Linked DNA regions of Homo sapiens: region 2 is linked to region 1. Evidence: promoter capture Hi-C in human tissues and cell types (Jung and others, 2019). All regions are on one chromosome and are shown on one strand. The core of a region is centred on a gene start or on the middle of the fragment in contact, and the rest is flanking DNA. Distances in the headings are between cores, read along the strand shown. Region 1 holds the start of SEC63 (SEC63 protein translocation regulator). Region 2 has its middle 72 kb from the start of CD164.

What was found. The method cuts DNA at HindIII sites, captures the fragments that hold promoters and counts their contacts. A contact is called where the count stands out against the background at its distance.
Region 2: a contact is called between a fragment that was not itself captured here and the fragment with the promoter of SEC63 in region 1, in 1 of the 25 tissues and cell types used here (hippocampus).

Annotation. Positions count from the first base shown.
Region 1 is chr6:107,954,566-107,961,997 of GRCh38, forward strand. SEC63 (SEC63 protein translocation regulator) reads right to left here and starts at 3,643. Exons shown (of 21, transcript NM_007214.5): 1 at 3,321-3,643. The coding sequence starts at 3,444. RefSeq lists enhancers at 3,082-3,683, 4,286-4,886 and a silencer at 3,306-3,845. The HindIII fragment of the contact is 11,998 bases long and covers 1-7,432 here.
Region 2 is chr6:109,307,178-109,314,609 of GRCh38, forward strand. It overlaps the pseudogene CCDC162P. Among named protein-coding and RNA genes, the nearest start is that of CD164, 72 kb to the right of the region's middle. The HindIII fragment of the contact is 3,139 bases long and covers 3,066-6,204 here.

The DNA of each region.
Region 1 (7,432 bases), core at 2,393-4,892:
CACCAATAACCAAACAAATTAATATTCCAAGACAGAACATAACTATTTATTAAGTGAGATAAAGATTATTCAGTAGCCTCCTGTCAGTACAAGTCGGCAAATTATTTTGCAGCAAACTTCTGAAAAAAGTTCCTTATTCAGAGCTTTGAATGAGGCAGTAATTCAAGATTTCTCTTTCATATTCAAGATACTGCAACTGGGCTGCAGAAAAAAAGTCACTATGATGAAAACATCCTTTTACTACAACTGTAATTCCACAGAAACAACTCAAGTTATTAGGGTAAATCCAAGAAAAAAGTCCAAGTGGTGCCCAACAATTTTCATAATGATTAGAATAGCATTTAAGTATTCACCTTAATTTTCATAACACAATTTTGAGCAAGAGCAAACAAATACATCAAAATATGCATATGGACTAAGGCAAGCCTGAAGCAGAGAGCCGGATGTAAAACGGGCAAACTGACACCCATAATAGTTCACCTAACTTTCTATCTAGCAGTATGGAAACCACACAGGGCTCTGAAGCTAAGCGACCAATGTTCTAATCCCAGTTCAACCATACAGGAAAATTACTTACATGCTCTACCCTCAGTTTCTTTACCTGTAAATGGAGATAATAATAGAACCTACCTCACTGCATTGCTGGAGTGTGGTGGCACGATCTCGGCTCATTGCAACCTCCAGCTCCCGGGTTCAAGCAATTCTCCCTGCCTCAGCCTCCCGGGTAGCTGGAATTACAGGCGTCCGCCACCACTCCCAGCTAACTTTTTGTATTTTTGTAGAGACGGGGTTTCACCATGTTGGCCAGGCTGGTCTTGAACTCCTGACTTTAGGTGATCCGCCCGCCTGGGCCTCCCAAAGTGAGCCACGGCAGGCGTGAGCCACCATGCCCGGCCAACCTCACTGCATTTTTAAGAAGATTAAATAAAGTAAAAGTTGAAGTCCATGATTTACAAATAGTATTAATTCCCTCCACCTAAACTACCACCACTTTTTCAAAGACACTTACATGCTGAAGGGGGTCAAGTATGACTTGTTGGCAGGGCGTGGTGGCTCATGCCTGTAGTCCCAGCACTTTGGGAGCCCGAGGAGGGCAGATCACTTGGTGTCAGGAGTTGGAGACCAGCCTGGTCAACATGGTGAAACCCCATCTTTACTAAAAACACGAAAATAAGCCAAGCCTGGTGGTGCACGCCTGTAATCCCAGCTACTGGGGAAGCTGTGGCAGAACTGCTTGAACCCAGCAGGTGGAGGCTGCAATGAGTCAAGATCAAGCCACTGCACTCCATCCTGGGCAACAGAGTGAGACTCTGTCTCTAAATAAATAAATAAATAAATAAATAAATAAATAGTATGATTCTTCTATGAAATCAGGTGAATTTTATAATACGAAACTCACCATGAAAATATGACTTTCAAATTTCAAAAATCCATCCTGACACAGTGGCTCAAGTCTGTAAGGCCAGCTACTCGGGGGGCTGAAGCGGGAGGATGACTTGAAGCAAGTTCAAGACCAGCCTGGGTAAATGAGACTCTCCCCGCTTTAAAAAGAAAAAAAGAACAACTTTAAAAATCCAATGTAGATTAAAAAATGATGGCTAATTTCTGAAATCAGGGCAGTTTCTCAAAACACTTTTTTTTATACCTTTGTTCTGCCTGATCAAAACACATTCTGGCCAAACCCACCGACTACTCTCCCAATACCTTTTTGTTTTCTACACTACCAATTGCACACATAATGGCTGTTAGGTGAAAATAAACTACTGAAAAGTGTACCCTTTTAACTTGAAATACAACAACCACAAGAATGGCCTAGGTTTGCAGATAAGAAAAGCCATTACAGCATTAAGACTTCACTTATACACAATCACTGCCCAAAGAACCTACCCAATTTTTTTTCCTTTTTCAACATCGAGGAAGAACCTACACAATTTAAATGCACTTAGGAAATAAGGCACAACAGTCCAAGATCCAAATTTCATAAACTACCCATTGAGTAAAAAAAGTATTAAGACTAGTAACTTTGGACAGATTTTTGCATCTAATGGATTTTTAAACTTATTGTCAAACGTACAAAATGATGCAATCCTTTGTTACTATTTATCCTAAATTTATTTTAGTTCTATTCCAAGTCAAGAATGTTAGTTTCCTGCAGATCACATGGGGCGGGGGGGAAAAAGAATGTTACAGGACACTGAATCCATCTGAAAGTATAACAAGTTCTGAGCTGATTCAAGGCTTCACTGTTAACAACTTCTCCAAGTAGAGTATATAACCTGGACAACCTAGACCTCCAGCACACCCAATTGAAGAGAAGATATTTAAGCAAGTTAGCACAGCTCTTGTGCAATAGAAAGCTTTCCCTAAGTTGTTAATACTCAAAACCCACTCCTTACTGTTAACACTACCATAAATAACCCATTAGGCCCTCGCAGTTACATCAGCTTTAAGAATACCATCTGCCATATGTCCTAGTAGAGTGCAACAAATGGATGCAAACATTACCCAAACATCAAGTGAAATATGAAAAGAATCTGTTATTCTGTGCTTTAATTCGATGTTGTTTAATGTGAAAAGACTTAGAACCAAAAGTAAATCGACCCACTACCTCAAAATTCCCTACAAGATTAATTAAACGAGACTTAATCCTTCATACTTGCACTTTTTCCGTCACAAACAGGAAACTCCGAAGAAAAGGAAATAGAAAAAAGCCTATTTTTGCTAAGAGGAATAACGGCATTGCTTCCAACCCCCACAGTGAGTGAACAAATGAAAAAGCAACGGGAGGAAGTGACGGGGGTAGGCGGTGGAAAGCTCAATTGGAGTCCTAAGCATGCCACCCGGCTCAGAGATGCCCTAAAACATCTGTTAAGAGCAGCTGCAACAGGGAAACCGGAGTCGGGGGATGAGGGCCGCGAACTGGACGGACTGAGAGTTGTGCCCGCACGTTCAGTCTCTTCTTGGCCAACTCTTTGCTCACCTCCCAAGTCCCCATCCCGCTTCCTCCATAAAGAAAAATCCCCAATAAAAGCAAAGGCAGAGAAGACAAAGAGGCAGGAGGAGGCTGCAAGGAGCGTCCACAACAATGGAGAAGATGGAGCGAGCGAAACTCCTGAGGACAATGAAGGGAGGTGGAGAAGCGCCGAGGGAAACGCTGCTGACCCGGGCCCCGCCAGTGGCGGACGCTGGACACAGGCCGGGCCGCACCGTCCCTGTCATCCCGGACGCCGCGGGCTGGGGCCGGGCAAGCGGGCGCCGCAGGGCCTGGGGGCGCTGGCGGGGCCTGCGCGGGTTCGCGGGCAAAGGCCGGCGGGACTCACCGGCATTCTGATCTCGGGGCCAGAGGTAGTATGTCGCCGGGATCACGATGAGCCCCACGAAGGAGGTGAGGAAGTAGAAGAAGGTGTTCCCACTGTCATCGTACTGGAACTGCTGCCCGGCCATGGCACCCCCTCCTCCGCCTCGCTCTTCTCACCGCCGCCGCCACGACCACGCTCTGCACTCCCGCTCCCAACGCCCCGGCCCGAGTGGCGTAGCTTGGACACTGCCGCCGCCGCCTCTCCTCCCCGCCCCCACGCCACTCTCACGGACACGCCGCCGCCACCTCTGCCGCTGCCGCCGCCGTCGCCAGCTCTCGCGAGAGGAGATAGTTCCCGCCCCGCTCAGTTTTCCCTCCCCCTGCGTGTCCCCAGCGAGCTCGCTAAGGGAGACGTGGCGAGCGCAACGGTGGAACTCGGCGAGGTCTCGCCCTTAGCCCCGCCCTAACGTCAAAGCCCTCCCCCAACCCCTCCCCTAGGGTCCCGCCCCTAACCGCTCCGCCTTCCTCCACCGCTCAGTTTCCCAGCGCACCACGCCGGATTCCGGGCGTCGGCGTACAGGATCCCAGAGAAGGCTTCCCGCCGGAGCAGCGGTCGCGGGCGGTTCACCTGGCTGCGCAGGGGTCCCAGATATTCAGAGAAGAGCTGAGGCTCAGCCTGTCCTGCCCTCTGGATTAATTGCCCTGGTTGATCACGTTTCCTTGGGTTCTGGATCTGCTCCTCCAGCCCCCATATTTTGGAAACAAGTGTCATTTAGAATAGGGGGTGGGAGGCCGGGCACAGTGGCTCACGCCTGTAATCCCAGCACTTTGAGAGGCCGAGGCGGACGGATCATGAGATCAGGAGTTCGAGACCAGCCTGACCAACATGGTGAAACCCACTCTCTACTAAAAATACAAAAATTAGCCGGACGTGGTGGCGCGCGCCTCCATCTCAAAAAAAAAAAAAATTGGGGGATGGGGAGGTGTGGGTTGCGGGAGGTGTGGGTTGCAGTTGTGTTTTCAAAGCAATGTTTACTATCTGGCCGGGCGCAGTGGCTCATGCCTGTAATCCCAGTACTTTGGGAGACCGGGTGGATCATGAGGTCAGGAGTTCCAGACCAGCCTAACCAACATGGTGAAACCGCGTCTCTACTAAAAATACAAAAACTAGCCGGCTGTGGTGGCACGCGCCTGTAATCCCAGCTACTCAGGAGGCTGAGGCAGGAGAATCGCTTGAACCCGGGAGGCGGAGGTTGCAGTGAGACCGGATCGCTCTCCACTGGGCGACAGATTTGAATCTACGCTGTGCCCATCTTGCAGATGAAGATTTCCCCAAGCCGTTACAGATGGTTCCCTACCCATTCCAGAGCTGCTAATTATAACCACCAGCTTCAGGCGGTAGGCTGAGACCTTTATTGTTTTGTGTCATTTAGTCATCAGTAAACCCCATGGAATAAAGCAAAGTATGTCTGCTCTACAAATGAGAAAATTGAGGCCCAGAGAGACTGCCCAAGGTCCCTCACAGTAAAAGAATGTCTGAGGATTCAAACCCATATCATTTTGATGCCACAAAGCCAGTGTGCCCTTGACCCTCCATCGCCCAGGACCTTAAAATTTCCTGACAGTGACTGGCATTCTCCCTGCGGGTTGTGAACAGGAAACTGCATTTCAGGGATGGACGGTGGCGGGAGCAGTCGCTCTCGGGAGCCTCTCCTTCCCCTGGCTGTGGGACCCTAGAGGCTGGTGTCCGCTGAGCTGGAAACTGGACTTCTGCCCAGATCTTTGAACGACCCCACGGTCCAGCGGCAGCTGTGGCTGGGGTCTATCCCAGAGTCCATTGCCCCTCTCTGGGTTAAAAGGATAGCCCACCTGGTTGCAGAGATTGAAAGGACTAATTGTGAAAATGCTTTTCAAAGGAGAAAGTGTAATATGCAAATACCAAATATTACACTATATTTCAAGGACTCATTTTAATACTTTATACTCTGTTAACTAAATGCATTATAATATTCCTTCCATTGTTGGAGGAAAAATCTGGTTGCTCATTGTCTTTCATTTCATGTCTTCAAAACTAGTATCTTAATCAGTAATGCTTTCCTTCATAATAGATTGTGTTCATATGTATTCTCTCTTCCCTTCAAATTTCCTATCTACTCACTTTGAAAGGAAATTTCTGAAATTCATTTCTATGCATTTCCCTCCTCACTTTTTTTCTGCACAAAGTTCAAAACTATATTATAGGTGAAAAAATAAAACCAAGAAATGAAGGGAAGGTTGAACTATGAAATCAACATAGCATTGTGATCTCCCAACGCTGATATACCCAGAGTGAACAATTTGCCTTGCTACAGAAAATTAGTCACAGACTTGTTGCAGCTGAAGTGAGCAGGATCATGAAGTTCCTTTTGTTTGTTGAATATGTTATTAAGTCTTCCTCGGTTTTAATAATGTTGAACTGTTTTTTTATTACTCCTATTATGTTTTGCTGGGCATTTGTTTAAAGATAATACATCAGTTTTGTAACCTTGTAGCAATATAAGTTATTGATGATAAATACTCCCCTTCTTTCTTTCTGCAGGAATAATATTTTCACTGCAGCTTTGGGGTCATGCCTAAAAGTGGCTTGAACCAAATTGAAATAGCAATTTGAAAAAACCCCAGATCAATCTAAAATGTTATTTTTTTAACCAAAGCATGTTCAAGATTTGAAAATGTATCCTCTATTTTCAAAAGTATACATATAATTTATCCTAGAACTTAATATTACTGAACATAGATAACCTCAGACCACCCAAATATTCTCCAAAGCAAATCTTAATCATACCTTTAATTAATTTAATCGCAATTTCTGATTCACTTTTTTTTTTTTTTTTGAGACAGGGTCTCATTCTGTTGCCCAGGCTGCAGTGCAGTGGTGCATTCTTGGCTCACTGCAGCCTCTGCCTCCAGGTTCAAGTGATTCTCATGCCTCAGCCTCCCGAGTAGCTGGGACTACAGGCGTGCACCACCACACCCGGCTAAGTTTTGCATTTTTAGTAGAGACAGGGTTTCACCAAGTTGGCCAGGCTGGTCTCGAACTCCTGACCTCAGGTGATCCGCCCACCTCAGCCTCCCAAAGTGCTGGGATTACAGGCATTAGCCACCATGCCCAGCAGATATTTTTAACCTAATAAAATTGTTTCAAGAAATTATTTTAGTGAGATATTTAATAAAAGTAAATTAATATGGCTGGGTGCCATGGATCACATTGAAGACCAACCTGGCCAACATGGTGAAACCCTATCTCTACTAAAAATACAAAAATTAGCCGGGCATGGTGGTGGTGCCTGTAAGCCTAGCTACTCGGGAGGCTGAGGCAGGAGAATCACTTGAACCCAGGAGGCAGAGGTTGCAATGAGCCGAGATCATGCCACTGCACTCTAGCCTGGCCAACAGAGCAAGACTCCATCTCAAAAAAAAGAAAAATATGGAAGAAGCAAAGCTACAGACAAAACTTGTCTTTAGTCTAACAGCATATATTAAAAGGCATTTAGGCCTGTAATCCCAGGACTTTGGGAAGCCAAGGCAGGCAGATCACTTGAGGCCAGGAGTAAAAGACCAGCCTGACCAACATGGTGAAACCCGGTCTCTACTAAAAATACAAAAATTAGCTGGGTGTGGTGGCAGGCGCCTGTAATCCCAGCTACTCAGAAGGCTGAGACAGGAGAATCACTTGAACCCAGGAGGTGAAGGTTGCAGTGAGCTAAGATCGTGCCATTGCACTCCAGCCTGGGTGACACAGCAAGACCATGTCTCAAAAAAAAAAAAAAAAAAAAAGGCATTGGGCATTTTAGTATTTATGTCTGTAATTGAATATTTTAATCAATTTTGTTTTAATTGCTAGATAGACATTTTCCCTGTAGAAAGCCTGACTATTTTGGGGTTCCTTTTCATACTTTGCTTTTTCCTTAGAGTGAATCTTTCCTTCTTTGTAAGTCATCCTTTTTTTTTTAGACAGAGTATCCCTCTGTAGCCCAGGCTGGAGTGCAGTGGCGCAATCTTGGCTCACTGCAACCTCGCCTCCCCGGTTCAAGCAATTCTTCTGCCTCGGCCTCCCAAGTAGCTGGGACTACAAGCATGCACCACCACACGTGG
Region 2 (7,432 bases), core at 3,385-5,884, 1.4 Mb after region 1:
TTTATAATGCTAAGCCAAGGGACACCAACATCAACCTCAAGCAAGTCCCACATTTCTACCTTCAGTGGCTGCAAGACAGTGACTTTTGGCCCAAGCCATGGCCCTCATTTAGACCCAGAAGACAGGGTCGGACCGTGACCATTGGATCTGCTCTTGCTTCCTTTGGGTGTTGCCTGGGATTAGGTGGATATAGGAGTCCCGGCTCCTTGCTGTCAGAATCAACTCCAACTCCAGGACTTGACTAAAACCAGAACCAGGTCTGGAAGTGTAGAATGGAGTCAGATAGGCAGGCCCACTGGTTCCAGGGCTGCAGATGGTGTCACAAAGGACAGAGGATGCCTTAGCTGTTGGTTAGTGATATGGAGGAGCCAGAGACTCACATGTAATAATTTGTGGTGCTGGTCTTGAGTTGTTACCGAGAATTGGAGCACAATAATGATGAAGGACAACTTTTTAAGGTTCCTGATATTGAGAGCATTTGAGTAAATTTATTTTTATTGATTTTAAATATGTCCCATTGGTGTTATACTGTTCTGGAACTTCTGAACACTGGTGCTGATTAGTTACACTGAAATCTTAAGTACTCTTCTGTGTTTCACCATCTGCTGAGAAAACAATTTAAAAAATAAATTATTGCTGTCTCTTCTATATCTCTAGGAACTATCAAGAAATACTTACACATAATAAATAAGTCATCCAAAATTGTTTTGCGGTACAGACACAGATATCCTATTCATATACAGATATCTATTAATTTTGAACACAAAGTACAACATTATCATCTTTATTATTTTGTTCTCTTAGGCATTTGAGCTGTTTCCTTGGAGAGCATTTCTGGAAGATGGAGGACCATTCCCAGTTATGAGTAACAGCCCAGATACCCTAGAATATAATATGCAGGTAGGATAGGTCTTCTCCATTGTTGCAGAGAGAACTGAGCGCAGACTGCAAAGATGGTTGCCATTGGGTTCACAGGTCAGATCCTCCTACTCTCACCCACGATGAATAATGTGTGAGATAAGCAGGGTGTTTGATTTTGAGGCTGTAAACCCAGGGTCACGAGGTGAGTCACATTTTCTTATGATAGAAGGGAAGCATGCTCTCAACTGGCATGGGCCTGGGTTGTAGACTCAGCTGCAGTTTTCGTAACAGTAGTGATCTGGGAGAATGGCCAGTCATCTCCAGTCATGGGCTGGGCCTCTTAGAGAAACTCCCAGGCTGGCAGCTCAGAGATGTGTGACTCCTGACCTGTCCATAAACAGTTGTGGGAAGGGAACTTTTTAAAGCAGGACTCGTAGGGAGAATTTCTTTTCATTGTTTTCTTTTTTGCTGTTAACTTCCTTTAAATAGTTTGATTCTTTTCATTATTAAATGTTTTCCCCTGATTATTTAAGTAAATATTGTTTTTATTTAAAAAATAGAAAGCTTAGAAAAGTATTAAGAACAACATGAAAATCAACCATAAATAACGCTTCAAAACAATATGGAGGTGGGGAGTGGGTGGGATGGGGTAGCACTGGCCACAGGTTAATGGTTGTTGGGGCTGGGTGATGGGAACTTTTCTGTTTGATTTCTATATATTCAAAATTATCCATAAGTAGAACAGGTTTTTTAAGTAAAATAGTAAAAGTGGTCTTAAAAAATTAACCATATGGCTGGGTGTGGTGGCTCATGCCTGTAATCTCAGCACTTTGGGAGGCCAAGGTGGGCAGATCTCTTGAGCTCAGGAGTTCAAGACCAGCCTGGGCAACAAGGTGAAAGCCTGTGTCTACTGAAAATGCAAAAATTAGCTGGGTGTGGTGGCACACGCCTGTAGTCCCAGCTACTCAGAAGGCTAAGGCATGAGAATCACCTGAACCCAGGAGACGGAGGTTGCAGTGAGCTGAGATCGTACCACTGCACTCCAGCCTGGTGACAGTGTAAGACTCTCTTAAAAAATAAAATAAAATAAAATAAAATAAAAAATCAACCATAGTTCCACAACTAAGAGACAATTACAGTTCACATTTTATTTCCCTGGTATTTTCCCTCTGCATATGTGTGTTTATATCTGTACTTTTAAGGGAAAATTGATATCACACTATACATTCACCATGTACAGATCTGCTGTAAGGGCTGGAAACTTGGCATTTTCATACAGAGCCAAAATTTGATGTGCTCAAAGAAAACTTTAAGTTAGAAATGTTACTCTGGTTTTTATGAATTTTCTAGCAGTTGAGGGAATGGGTTCTTGTAAATACAGTTACTCCTAGTTTTCTTCCTGAAAACCATATGTAAAATATATATATGGTCTTCAAATGGAAGGTTTTTTTGTTTTTTTTTAGCTGTGCCTCTGTGGGCTGAGTGACCGTGACCGCAAGGTGGCTCATGGAGAACTGGTGGGTGTGCAACTGCTACTGGAAGATGTTCTGAGTAGCTATCATGTGACCATGGAGGCCCCCCAAAGACAGCAAGCCACACTGGGCAAAAATACACAGGTATTCTGGGGGTATCGTTTCCATATTGATAGTACTATATTGAACTGAAGGACCTCTCTGTTGGGGAGATGGTCCGGGGAGTCATGTTTTCCCACAGCCTCTCTCAGTAGGTCCCAGGACTGTGCCAACACCACCTGGGAGCAACAGTGGAGCAGGGGTAGCCACTGCAAAGCATTTTCTAAGTTCCATGATTATGGTATATACATCTATTTTAATTTTAAAAATACGCCAAAAGTTGTGGGAGGTCTATTGAAACCAAATGAAACAAAAGCGCCAACTGGATGCTTTCTTTGTGAGTCATACATCTAGGACTGGAGTTGGAAGGGCCAGAGGGGTCTGATAGAAGCCCCAGGTGGACATCTCAGGCCTGGGCTCTTGTCCTCATCACTCAACTACTGGCCTATGGTCTCCTGGGCAGGCACTGCCTCCTCTGGGTTTATCATTCTGAAGCTCTAAGGTGCAAGGGCCACTAGCGCTCCTAGTGTCATGACTTTAAACAATTTTGCATATATCCAGGAACTAGGCAGAGACATGTTTGGATGCTAGACAAACTAGCTGGTGCCCGCACTTGAAGAGCTTTTCTGTCCGAGCCAAACTTTCTGAGCAATGCCTAAACCCATCATCTCCATTTTCTTACCTTCCTGCCACTCCTCGAAGCACTGCAGTCTGTCTTCCCAATCTTGCTACTGAAACCTCTCTCATCAAGAGATGGTCTTTGTCACTAAATCCTCTGGGTACTTTCAGTCACCTTTCTACCTAACCCCTTGGCAGCATTTGACACAGAGTCCTTCTCAAAGCCTCTCTGCCCTTGGCTTCTACAGCATGAGTCTCTCCTAGCTTTCCTCCAACATTGCTGAGCCCCTCTTCTCAGACCCTTCTGTAGGGTCCTCTACCTCTGCCAACCCTAAAATTTTTTTATAATCTATCCCACCACTGCTACCAGGGCCACATTTTGACTTCCGCAGTCCCTAACACTTTTACCTTTGTGGGCTCTTCCCTCCTCCATGAAAAACCATTAAAAATTATATTTTAACATTGTGCTAGTACAAAGAAAAATATATTAATATCATATATTAAAGCATTTTATTTAGCCTAAAAGGTCTTTTTTTCTGATTAAAAAAAAATAAAGCATTTTGTGGGCCCGAGGCACTGTGCCTCCTCTGCCCAAGCTGTTAAGTCAGCCCTGAATACTATCAATACCACTGCTATTATTGCCTAGAAGTTGAGGTCTGTTCAGATTGCTTTTTATGTATTCATTTATTTAGTCCTCACAATAATTCCATGAGATAGGTTGTTTCATTGTTCTCATTTTATAGATAAGAATACTAAGGCTTAAAAAGGTTAAGTAACATGGCCAAAGTCACATGGTTAATGAGGAAAGAAGCTCAGATTCCAACCCAACGGTCTGGCCCTAGAGCTCCCTCATCCTCTTCTCTACTAGGTTGCTCCATTCCTCACCCTCTCCCTAGGAAAACCCATCCACTTTTATAACTTTGATGACATTCACATGCAATGATCCAAATCTGTATGTCTAGCCCAAATATCAATCCTATCAGACTCACATGTTCAATTGCCTGCTGGATATCTCCACTTATTCCATCTCAGAGACAGCGTTTCTCAAGCTAAGGTCATCTTACTCCCTAAATCTTGCCCTTCCCTGTCCGTTTACCACTACCTGCCCAGTTGGCCAAGCCAAAAACTCTGGGCACCATCTTTGACTTCTGTCCCACACCCCACAACCAGTCACCAAGTTTTACTATCAATTATTTTAATATCTTTCAAGTTTGTCTTCTTTCTCTGTTCCCCCACAGTACCCACTTCTATGAGTCCAAACCATCATCATCCCTGATCACTAACTAGGCTATGATCTTGACCTCCAATTGGATTCAATACACTTATTCTCACCTCCTTCCAATCCATTCACCAGGGTAATATTTTTAAATGCAAGCCTGATTATATCACTTCCTTTACTATAACTCTTCAATGGATTCCAGATGCCCTGAGAAGAGTCCAAATGCTTTCATCAGCCCCTCGTGACTTGACTCCTGCCAATATTTCTACCCTCAATGTCTTTCGATTTGTCAAATGCACCATGCTCTCTTCTGTACTTCTCCCAAACTGGTCACTCTAGTGGAAAACTTCCCTCTCCTTCCTCTTTCTGCTTCATCACCTGATTAACTCTTACTTATCCTTCAGATTTCCACTTCCAAACCACTCTCTTTAGGAAGCTTCTTCTGATCATCCACGCTTACCCTGTTGCTTCTCTGTGCCAGTTAGAGTGCTTCTGGTGCAAGTAACAGGTTGTTCCATTAGCTATAACCTAAATTAGGGAAGCATATTAATCCTCCATAATAAGACGTCTAGAAGGAGGCAGTTCAGGTTGGTGTAGCCCCTTGACAGTGACTTCAAGGACTCAGGCTCTGCCATTTAGGTGTATTGGGAAACATCTCCCTCATGTTTGTAAGATAAAAACAGGAGCAAAAAAGCTTTCTCCTTGGAGATCTAGCTTTTTATCAAGGAGGGGAATATTTTCTAGAAGCCCCCCCATTAGATTTTCCTTGTGTCTTTTTAGCTAAACTGAGTCACAAGTCCACTTGGGGCCAATTAGTAGAAAAAGAAGTGGTTTTATATGTGCCATCTACATTCCACAGCATAATTAGATCTTCACCCAGTGTGATCATTTGCAAAGCTGGGTATAGACCAAATTGTGCCAGGATCCAAACACATGCTGGGCCCTCAGGTCCTTCTGTTTGCCATATTTTGGCCCTGTCTATGATGGATTACCATCTTTTCCTGACATTCCCCACCATCCTCCACCTTGTTATTTATTTTGGCTCCTGTTCCTTCTCTTGTCTATTAAATTAAAGCACGTTGGTAGAAAAGACTTCTCATCATATGAACATATTAACAAACAAGTTTGCTTTAAAATTATTATTTATTTTAATTAATTTTATTTCGTGTGTTTTTATTTAGGAGTATTTAGCTATTCATAGACAATAGGAAGCAGTAGAATTTATACTGCCCTGAGAGTCAGGACTCCTGAGTTCCTGCCCCAGTTATGCTATAAGTTTTTTGATCTCACTAGGCCTCAGTCTCCAAAGCTCCAAAGTAAAGGTGATGAATTGGCTCAAGGCTTTTAAAATTGTGGTCCAAGGAGCCCTGGGGTTCCTCAGAGATACCCTGGGGCTTCTTGAGCTGGGGAGCGGGGGCGGCAATTACATGGCCTCCAGGCTGTCCCCTTCATGTCACCATGCTTGGCCTTGGTCTGTTGAATATTTGGGCCAGTGTGTAAGAATTCATTTGATGAAAGAGCTCTGAGGATAAAATAAAATCTGGAAATCCATGCACTAGCTGATTGTTGGGGAGGCAGGCTACAAGACTGAGGAGTTACCAGCAGTCTACAGGAACTCGCTCTCCCCTGGTTCTTGCTTATCAATTCTTCCTTGGACAATTTGACCAATACTCTTCCTGGCAGGCAGGCTTTTCCTTAGATATGTTAATACCACTGCTCTAGGATCCAATTATACCAGGTTGTTCTCCCTGTTTCTAGCCAGGAAACGTGAGTGTCTCGGGTACTGTCACCTAAATGCTCTCTAAGCCTCTTTTTATCATAACGTCATGGGATTTGCCAACCTGGTCTGCCAAGAAGAGCTCCTTTTTCTGTGACTGAGACACTATGTACAGGCAGTGGGCCTGGACGTGATCCTCATTTTGTTCCTCACTCTGGGTGACCCTGGCCCTCAGACCGCTGGCTGCAGGACAGCAGGACAAACAAGGACCTGAATACCTTGTTTCCTCCATGTCCTCCAGGGCTCATAGCAGCCCCTCCACAATTATTTACTTAAGGAAAGCACCAATGAATAAATGAAGAAATCATAATTTTAAAGTAATCTTTCTTATTGAATGATAAATTCTAATTAAGAGAAATGTTTCCTGCCTAACTTCTAAAAGAGGAGAAGAAACAGGAGGTAGGATAAATTAACTTTCTATTTCTTTACCCATAAGATGGGTAAAATCCTGAATGGAAAGTTACTTCTTGGCCCCACCGTGATGGGAACTTTAATCTCAGGTATATTGAAGAGCACTTTCCAGAATGCAGAGGGAAAACACAAAAGGCTCAGTTTTTCAAAGGCAGATAAAACGTTAGTATGCAAGTAAGCGAGTTTTCAAAATGAATGGTTCCAGACCCAAGCAAAAAGCTGCAGTTGAGACATTCCTATCCTTTCCATAAACTGTTCATGAAGGATGGTCAACCTCTCTCAACTCTATATGTGCTGTGGGCCTGTAAACCATTCCTCCTGGGGAAAAAGTTAATTCTCCAAAGACTTTGTTTTGCACAGGCTGCATGTGAAAGGTTAGCCTGTGTTGGTCCATGATCAATAAAGAAGGATTTCCATAATGCTTTCAGCCAGATTGGTCCAAAGTGCCAGGATTCAGAAGTCAGTTCCGAAGCAGCCCAAAGACCTCTGAGCTGCTGGAGGGCCTGTGCGATGCGGTGATGTCCTTTGCTTTGCTGAGATCATTTCTGATACTGTGGAAGCAGCTGGAAGTGCTAAAGGAGCACTGGGGCCGACTCAAGCTGCAAGGCCAGGATATCAACTCTGTCTCTCTCCACAAACGGTTTTCAGAGCTCTATGAGTGAGTGTTGCTGATGCTGAAATTCATGGCCATGACTAGAACCTGGGGGATGGCAGATTCCTGCCCTTAGTCTGAGGGCGAGATTTGGTCCATGAATCCTAATATGACCCGTTAGACCCACGGACTGAGTCTCTCAGAGCTTGTGGCATTGCAGCCAGAGATATACAGATGGCACATGCGGCACAAGTCTGAGGAATGGGAGGCATTCTAGCAGCTGCAGGCCCTGGCTCGAATGACGTAGCTGGCTGGGAAGGCGTGTTGCTTCTGCCACGTGTCTGTTAACAAACGAACATTTGCTAAGCACCCCCATACACCCT